2 separate regions of the Homo sapiens genome follow, and region 2 is linked to region 1. The links are contacts of gene promoters, found by promoter capture Hi-C in human tissues and cell types (Jung and others, 2019). All regions are on one chromosome and are shown on one strand. Each heading gives the region's core, a stretch centred on a gene start or on the middle of the fragment in contact. The rest is flanking DNA. Distances are from core to core; before and after follow the strand shown. Region 1 holds the start of PDK4 (pyruvate dehydrogenase kinase 4). Region 2 has its middle 40 kb from the start of PDK4-AS1.

Evidence for each region. The method cuts DNA at HindIII sites, captures the fragments that hold promoters and counts their contacts. A contact is called where the count stands out against the background at its distance.
Region 2: a contact is called between a fragment that was not itself captured here and the fragment with the promoter of PDK4 in region 1, in 2 of the 25 tissues and cell types used here (H1 embryonic stem cells and heart right ventricle).

Annotation. Positions count from the first base shown.
Region 1 is chr7:95,594,864-95,598,735 of GRCh38, forward strand. It overlaps PDK4 (pyruvate dehydrogenase kinase 4), which reads right to left and starts at 1,653. Exons shown (of 11, transcript NM_002612.4): 1 at 1,301-1,653; 2 at 160-301. The coding sequence starts at 1,430. PDK4-AS1 (PDK4 antisense RNA 1) reads left to right here and starts at 1,816. Exons shown (of 3, transcript XR_001745287.3): 1 at 1,816-1,920. RefSeq lists a silencer at 934-1,228. The HindIII fragment of the contact is 14,852 bases long and covers 1-3,872 here.
Region 2 is chr7:95,634,944-95,638,922 of GRCh38, forward strand. No RefSeq gene overlaps it. Among named protein-coding and RNA genes, the nearest start is that of PDK4-AS1, 40 kb to the left of the region's middle. The HindIII fragment of the contact is 6,474 bases long and covers 1-3,979 here.

The sequences.
Region 1 (3,872 bases), core at 403-2,902:
TGATAACTTACCCTAAATTAATTTTAAAATTCTTACATCTTTCAAAAGTAGTTACCATTCAGATCACCTGTTTTCCAATTATGATGTTAACATAGTATAAGAATTCATACCCGGGTAACTGTTTCAAAACTAGAGACTTCAATATGGTTCACCACTTACCAGCTTTTAACCAATTGCACTGAAGAGGTATTTACTAATTGGGTCGGGAGGATATCAATTTCCTTCAGAATGTTGGCGAGTCTCACAGGCAATTCTTGTCGCAAAAATGCAAAAGAAGTTCTTTCACATGCATTTTCTGAACCTATAATAAATGAAATCAATTTAGTTTTGAGAAAAAGTGTGTCTAAATGATATATCTAAATAGCATTAACTATCAAATATTGAACACACATATATTATAAAATTATATTTCACTCTCAGTTGGGTTACTGTTAATCGATAATTCAGGGGCGATTGTCTCCTTAATTGACTAATTCCCTTCGTCCTTTCGTCTTTCCTTCTTTCTTTTAAAAAGTGACAGATATAGGAGAATTATTGTCTTCTCTTTTTGAAGAGGATTCACTTCCAAGAAGTAAGAATATCCCACAGTTCTTAGAATTTATAAAAGACTGCAGGATTCGGTCACACCACAATGTCAACAACACAACATCCTTTAATGAGTGGGGACATGGAATTGGAGTTGGGGGATAAGAGGCTGGAGGGGGAGCTGTGATATTTCCAGAGTAGTGATATCACATTTAAACCCTTGAAATCTTCCTTATAAGATTACTGCAACAAATGTGTAAATATTTTCAGCAACAATGCAAATATATGGAAAACTATAATGATAAAGAGACAAAGAAATCTGTCAGGAATGCAGAGAGATGTACCCTGTGGAAGGATGCCAGGTGGCTAAGGAATAAAATCTGTTAATTTGAGGCTATTTAATACTATTCAGAAACTTCTCCAAGCAGTACTATGCTGTGAAGGAGAGGATAAAGTTTCCAGTCCATTGTTAAACGGTGACCGAAAGCAAAAAGTATTTTGACTGGAAGAGCGGGTCAGAAAGAAGAGTGTGCAGATGAAGTCAAACCATCCAGCGTCGGCAGGCTTGCAGGTGGCCTTGACCTGGAGGCACCCCTGTCAGAAAGTAACCAAATCTAGGAAAAGGAAAGGTGTGCTGGCGTCGAGGCTCCAGGGCTCAGCAGCAAAGTGAACCCCAGTTGTTTTAGCTTGAGCCTAGCCCTCCCTCTACCAAGGCTGAAAGTTAAGGCAGTTCCCCAACCCTAGGACCCAGCTTGGGCCCTGTGTCCCCTCTCACCAAAGTCCAGTAGCTGCTTCATGGACAGCGGGGACGGGCTGTAGCGCGAGAAATGCTCCACCTCTCGGGGCACCAGGCCGGCGCCGTTGAGCGAGCCAGCGCTGCGCAGCACGAAGCGGGCCGCCTTCATCTTGACGCCCACCCGGCCTGGCGGGGACTGTGGCTGGCTTGAGGGGCGAAGGCTGCTCGGAGCAGAGCCTGGTTCCGAGGGGGCGCGGCGCGTCCGGGCGAGGACTGCAGGTGCGCTGGCTGGCTTGTGCGCCCCGGCCTGGGCTGGGGTTTGAGGGTGCCGCGGAGTGAAGAGTCTGGGCAGAGTCGGAGATGCAGTGGTTCGAGATTCAAGTTCAAGTCTTCCCACCAGCCGCCGCCGCCCGAGGTTTTATTTGTCTCCCCGCACTCTCCCCCCGAGTCCCAAACAGGAGGAGTCACTGGAACTTGGAAACGCGTCCTGAACTCCAGGTCGCGCCAATCAGATCAGAGAAAGAACTATGGGCTCCGCCCCTCCAGCCGCGGTCATCACAGAATGGCCTGGCACGGTGACCACGGAGTGCCCTGGCACCGGTGCCCGCGGCTGTGACGGAAAAAGGGTGGGAAGAACAGGGAAGAGGAAGCAGAAACAGGTATCTGGGGCAACGTGGGCTTAAGATTAGCCTCTTGGGACGGGGCTCCGAGTCGCGTGGGCTGGGGTCCCGCCCAGGCTCGCCCTTGTTTACAACTCGGAGGCTGTCTCAATGTCAAGTACTCCTGGCCACAAACTGTTTCCAAGAGTTTGGACTCCGCGTGCTCATTGGTCCTTGCTCAGAGCAGGGCTTTTACAGTAGCCAACAAGCTGCGTTCAAAAGTATGGGCTTCTCTGCCACTGGACAGAGAGAAAGGAATAAACAACCTAAAGACCTGCGCCCCCACCCCCACCGCCCCCTTTTCTTCAGAAGAGACCGGCACATGGCAGGAACTGTACGTTCCTTTTGCTGAGACTTGAGGGGCTGCCCAGATACATTTACTTTTTCCTGTGGTAATAAAAGGCCATCAATTCGTTCTTCTCCGGCAACACATTCTTTCCGTTAGGTTTAGTTCTGTTAATTAAAAACAAAATTAAAAAGGGATCAATTTGTCAGTTTGCCTTACCTTTTGCGGTGATCAGAGAATTTGTTCACTCTGCCCTGTACGAAATGTCCTTACTCCAAATCTTTACCTAAGACATTCCATTCTACCCTCAAATGTCTGGCACAAGCTGTCTGCTGCAAAAGGTCTTCCTTGATTACTTCTCCTCACTTCTTCCAAATAAGGCCTTGGTCTTTCATGGTACTATTCTATAGCTATTTATGTTTTTATATTATCCCTCTCTGACTCCCCCCTTTCCTGAAAGAGATCAGGGTAGGGACCCTGTCTGATGCAGCTTTGTGATTCCTACTTTTTCACTACTCAATATTTATTAAATTAATGACAGTGGTTGAGACACATTACCCTGTCATACTAACCTCCTTTTCCTCTCCCGACACTCTAAAAGGACTAGGGAATGAAGCCACCGTGTTTGGGAAAGTTGGGAGTAAGAGAGTTGGTTACAAATGTAATAGAATGGGAATTTATGAGGTGTTAAAAATGATAGTTTGTTATAAAAAACCTTTTTGGCCTCCTCCCCCTGCGTTTATTTTATTTTAATTAATTAATTAATTACTTTATTTATTGAGACAGAGTCACACTGTCTCCCAGGCTGGAGTGCAGTGGTGCCATCTCGGCTCACTGCAACCTCGGCCTCCCAGGTTCAAGCGATTCTGCTGCCTCAGTCTTCTGAGTAGCTGGGATCACAGGCACACGCCACCACACTCAGCTAATTTTTTCTATTTTTGGTGAAGATGGGGTTTCTCCATGTTGGCCAGGCTGGTCTCAAACTCCTGACCTCAAGTGATCCACCCACCTCGGTCTCCCATAGTGCTGGGATTACAGGAGTGAGCCATTGCGCCCAGCCTGCCCTGCATTTATAAGCAGAACGGGCAACTCTGAAAGTCATGAGTGATCCTAGGCTCTGCTGTCATCCTTTGCCCTCTTCGTCTAGGAGACTGCATTAAATCACAGGACAGATTTCCAATTCTATCTCTAGCACAAACTTTCTTCCAAGAGCCAGATTCTCCTATTCAATTGCCTATTTGGTTTCTCCATTTGGATGTCTAATAGGTATCAATTTTGCTTCTCTAAAATCAACACCATTATGAGGGATCTGAAACAGTCCTGGCAAACCCTGTGTCAGTTATGTGGCCTGTTTGGAGGCACCATATTAGCTCTCCTACTATTTCTCCCATTGTCTATACATTACCTATAGATGGTCGAGAATTTGAGACTTCCTGTTATGACCAAATATTTTTTTCAGACCTTTGAGAAACAGCTATGTGAAGACATGCAATATTTATGATCTTCCAATGAAGAGGATGGGGCCTGGGTTCTTAGAGAATATTCAAGGATGATCCAAGTATAGACTCTAGCAGTTGCACTTGAGTGGGACAGAAAAACAAAAAAACCAAAAACACAACAGCTCAAGCACTTATCTTAAGCTGAAACAGCTGTGGGAATATGGGCA
Region 2 (3,979 bases), core at 1,426-3,925, 41 kb after region 1:
ATACAGGGAGAAGGCCATGGAAACATGAAGACAGCCATTTACAAGCCAAGGAGAGAAACAACCCAGCCAATACTTTCATTCTGGACTTCTAGACTCTAGGACTGTGGGGCAGTAAATTCCTGTTGTTTAAGCCAGCCAGTATGCGGTACTTTGTTACTGAAATCCTAGCAAACTAATATATTGACCTTCCAACACTGAGAAAGGCAAGTGGTACAAAGCTAACCACATTTCAATTATCATAACTCTATAAGTGAGAAACTGCTAGAAAGTAAATTGTGGAATTTGTTTTAGGTGAATGAAGGCCAATGGGCAGGCTTTTCTAGGACTAGAGGTAAGAAAACAATGTACTAATGTATACTTTTCCTTTAACCAAACCATTTATCTTTATTGCAAAAAATAATACAATTATAATGTCCTGACTCCAATTCTGATACTTTTTTCCTACAAATTTCCACTCACTGAGAATTTATAAAAAGAAAATAATTCAAAAGCCCATCACCTTAATAAATAAATGTTTGGATTTTTGCATTTATTCTTTATTTTAATCTAGATGAATGCTTAATTCCTCTTACATTTAATCATAATATAGGAGATTTGTAGTTCAATTTTCCCCTTTAACAGTGATTCTCAACCAGTGTCATTTTGATAATTTCCACCCATAGGCCAGGACTTTTGGCAACATCTGGAGACATTTTTGGTTGTCACAGCTGGGGTGATGGTGCTACTGATATCAAGTGGGTAGAAACCAGTGATTCAGCTCACATCTTATAATACACAAGACAATCCCCCAACACCAACTAGTAGAATCTGGCCCAAAATGTCAGTGGTGCTGGGGTTGAGAAACTTTGTCTTTCAGTAAGATATCATCAATGTTTTCCATGTTGAATAATAGCTGAGTGGTCTTTACAATATTTTCTGCACAAAATTCCTTTTCTGCACACTATTCTATTAAATTAATGTATTATAATTTATCTAACCAATAACCATGTAATGTGCTATTCAGGATGTTTCTAACGTCTCACTATTATAAATAAAGGTGCAAGTATTTTTTTATTTACATAGCTTTTTAGATGATCTTAAAGAAAAATTTCCAACACTGAGATTTAGATTAAAGGCTATGAGTACGCCAAACAGCAATTATTTCCTTTGTCAGTGAGAAATGGTTATAAGCCTTACTTACTGATATACATGCTTTTCTTTCTAGGGAAGCACTTTAATTTTTCTCATTTCTGAGTTGCCACAGGACTTTCACAGTGTGTTCAAGGATTGTCCTTTATTCTTTACCACAACTAAAGAATATAAGTAACCTCATCAAAATTTTCCTAAGACCATTAATGACTCATTACTTCATTTTAGAGGTCACTGTGGCCTACCACTGATTCAACCTTAAATCATCACTGCTACTTGACTCTGAACAGCTTTTATCAAAGCAGAACCAGGTAACATCCACTTGATCACAGTTAGAAGTATGCTCCTAACTCACTTACAGGAAGTAATCGGTTAACCGATCACAAGTTATCACAAGCTTACTTCTTAAAGGGGCCTCTTCCTTTTCCTTTGGAATCATGTAAAAGTTACTTTACATTACAAAAGCATTAGACAGCAAGTTATAAAGCACTAGGCTTGAACTTTTAAGACTGTACTAAAGGGTGAGTGGGTTATTAGAATAACAACAACAACAAAAAAAATACCATGAGGACCTATCCTTTCTTCATGTTACTAAGGAGTCCTCTTAGTAACCAAGACATTCTTTCAAAGAAAAAAACAAATGGTTGTAGGTGACAAAAGGTGACTTTTCCATGGCCCTGTGAAACAAACCATCCCTTTACACCCTTTGTCTCTCTGCCTAGACAGCCCCAGCTAAGTAAAAGATTGTGGTAGTCAGGTCTCTGGGCAGGTGGTATCCAGCACCACATTGAAAATATATCCTAGGTGCAGTAATGGGATGAGAATGGAGACAGCTGCTGAATGATGAAGGTGGGAGTGCACAAGGGTGAAGTGATGAAACAGGTACAGAAACACTTGCTTTCACAGGTCAGATGGGCCGGGGCAATATTCTAATACTAACCTGTGGGATAATATATATATATATAATATATATATTTGGGATAACAAATATATATATATATATATATATTTGGGATAACAAATATATATATATATATATATTTGGGATAACAAATATATATATATATATATATTTGTTACTTATTTGCCAGGCCCTCATCACAAATGGCCACTGAAGGAATAGCATAATTGCTAATCTATTTCCATGGACTCCAACTCCCATTTCCATGGACTCCCAGAAACCAGGCAGCAACCGCAGACAGGAAACCTGTCTTGATTTTACTGAGGCATCTCAGATGCCTCCTTTTTGTTTTAAAGCATAATGAGGACAGGATATGCATAAATGACCAGAATTTCCAAGAGGGCAGGGACAATTCTGGGAAGCTTGACATCAGGTTCTATCAAAATCATCTCATAGAATTCTTAAAAAACAAGTGCCAAGTGTAAAAATAAGCTAATATATTAAAGAGGAATAAATGTAAAGCCAGATCTAAAGTTAAATTAATTAAAAGATAAGTTGGAATGTTCTGTTTACTTTAAATTGTCAACAATAAAACCAAGTGGAAATATTTGAACATCTACAGATTATTTTTAAAAATGCAAACATGAAGCCAATTAATTCGAGATGAAATTTATCTACATGACAATATTTTCTTTCAGGCAGTGAAGAGGTGTAAAGGACAATTTATCATGCCATATGTTTGTTTTTTATGGATTTCTTGAGGGAGAGACTGTAAAATAAGCATAACAAAATAACAGTCAAATTATTTTTTTTTAACAAAAGTGACCCATGCTTCACCAGTTAGATTATGGTTTGCATAGTCTGGTATTCTCAAAAAGCAAAAACTTTTTTACAGACTTCATCTGAGGAAGAGATCCCAGGAATTGAAGTGGAGGACAGTGGCGAGTGAAGCAGAGACAGTGACAAAGCCAGCACAAGGATGCATTCTTGAGTTAGTCACTGCTGTGGGCAACTGAGACTCTGATAATCAGTGTAGTCTATGCCTCAGAGTGGACCATCCAGGGGATGGGTGGGGGCATTTATCCACCCGCTCCCATTCTCCATTGATGAAGACTTGCCCTCTGGCATTAACTCGCTTGCACTTCCAGGTTACACAAGTGTGGAAGTGTGGCAGGGTCTCAAGGGGTCCTTCAAGGTGGTAGCAGAAAAACTACCAAAGTCAGAAAGCGAGAGAAAAGTGGTGAAGCTCACATGAGGTGAGCAGAGGAGCTGGCTGTAGCAATGTCTGTAGTGACAGGTGAGCTCAGAGGAAGAGAAACAGAAACAAGAGGAGTCCACTGCATCTCACGACCCAGTTCTAATTACTCGCTGTGACTGTCAGGAGTCTAGTATTGAGAATAATTCAGCCCAGTGATGCTGAACTCAACAGCAAAGGGCCCAATGTTTATGAGGGTGTGAGTTATGGTATTCCTTAAATTCAATCTCATTTTATGTCATCTGGATAATAGAGGGTCATGCCTGTGTCCTCTTTGATGGAAGAGAGGTACAGGAGGACTGTGGCTAATGGGGTAGCCAGAAACCAACATGACTTACTCTACATGTACTCTTTCATAGGAATGTTTAGATACCACTCAGAGATGTAAAATAGAATAAGATTCTTTTGTCAGTGTCTAAACATTTCTGTATGATTTGGACTGGCAGAGAATAACCAATTCTTTGCTTTGGTTTTCTTTGAATTGAAGAGAATGACCTATCAAAAGTATGGCAATGATAATTTTCTACATAAATATTGTTAGAAGGTGAAATGGTACTTACTTTTTAAAGAAGAAAAAAACTGTATATTATACACAATCTATAGATCTCTGAGTCTCTAATATTCTAGTTACACATCTAATTTTAGCCACGTCCTTCATGCTATGTAGCTTTGGGCAGGTCCACATTTTCTACTTC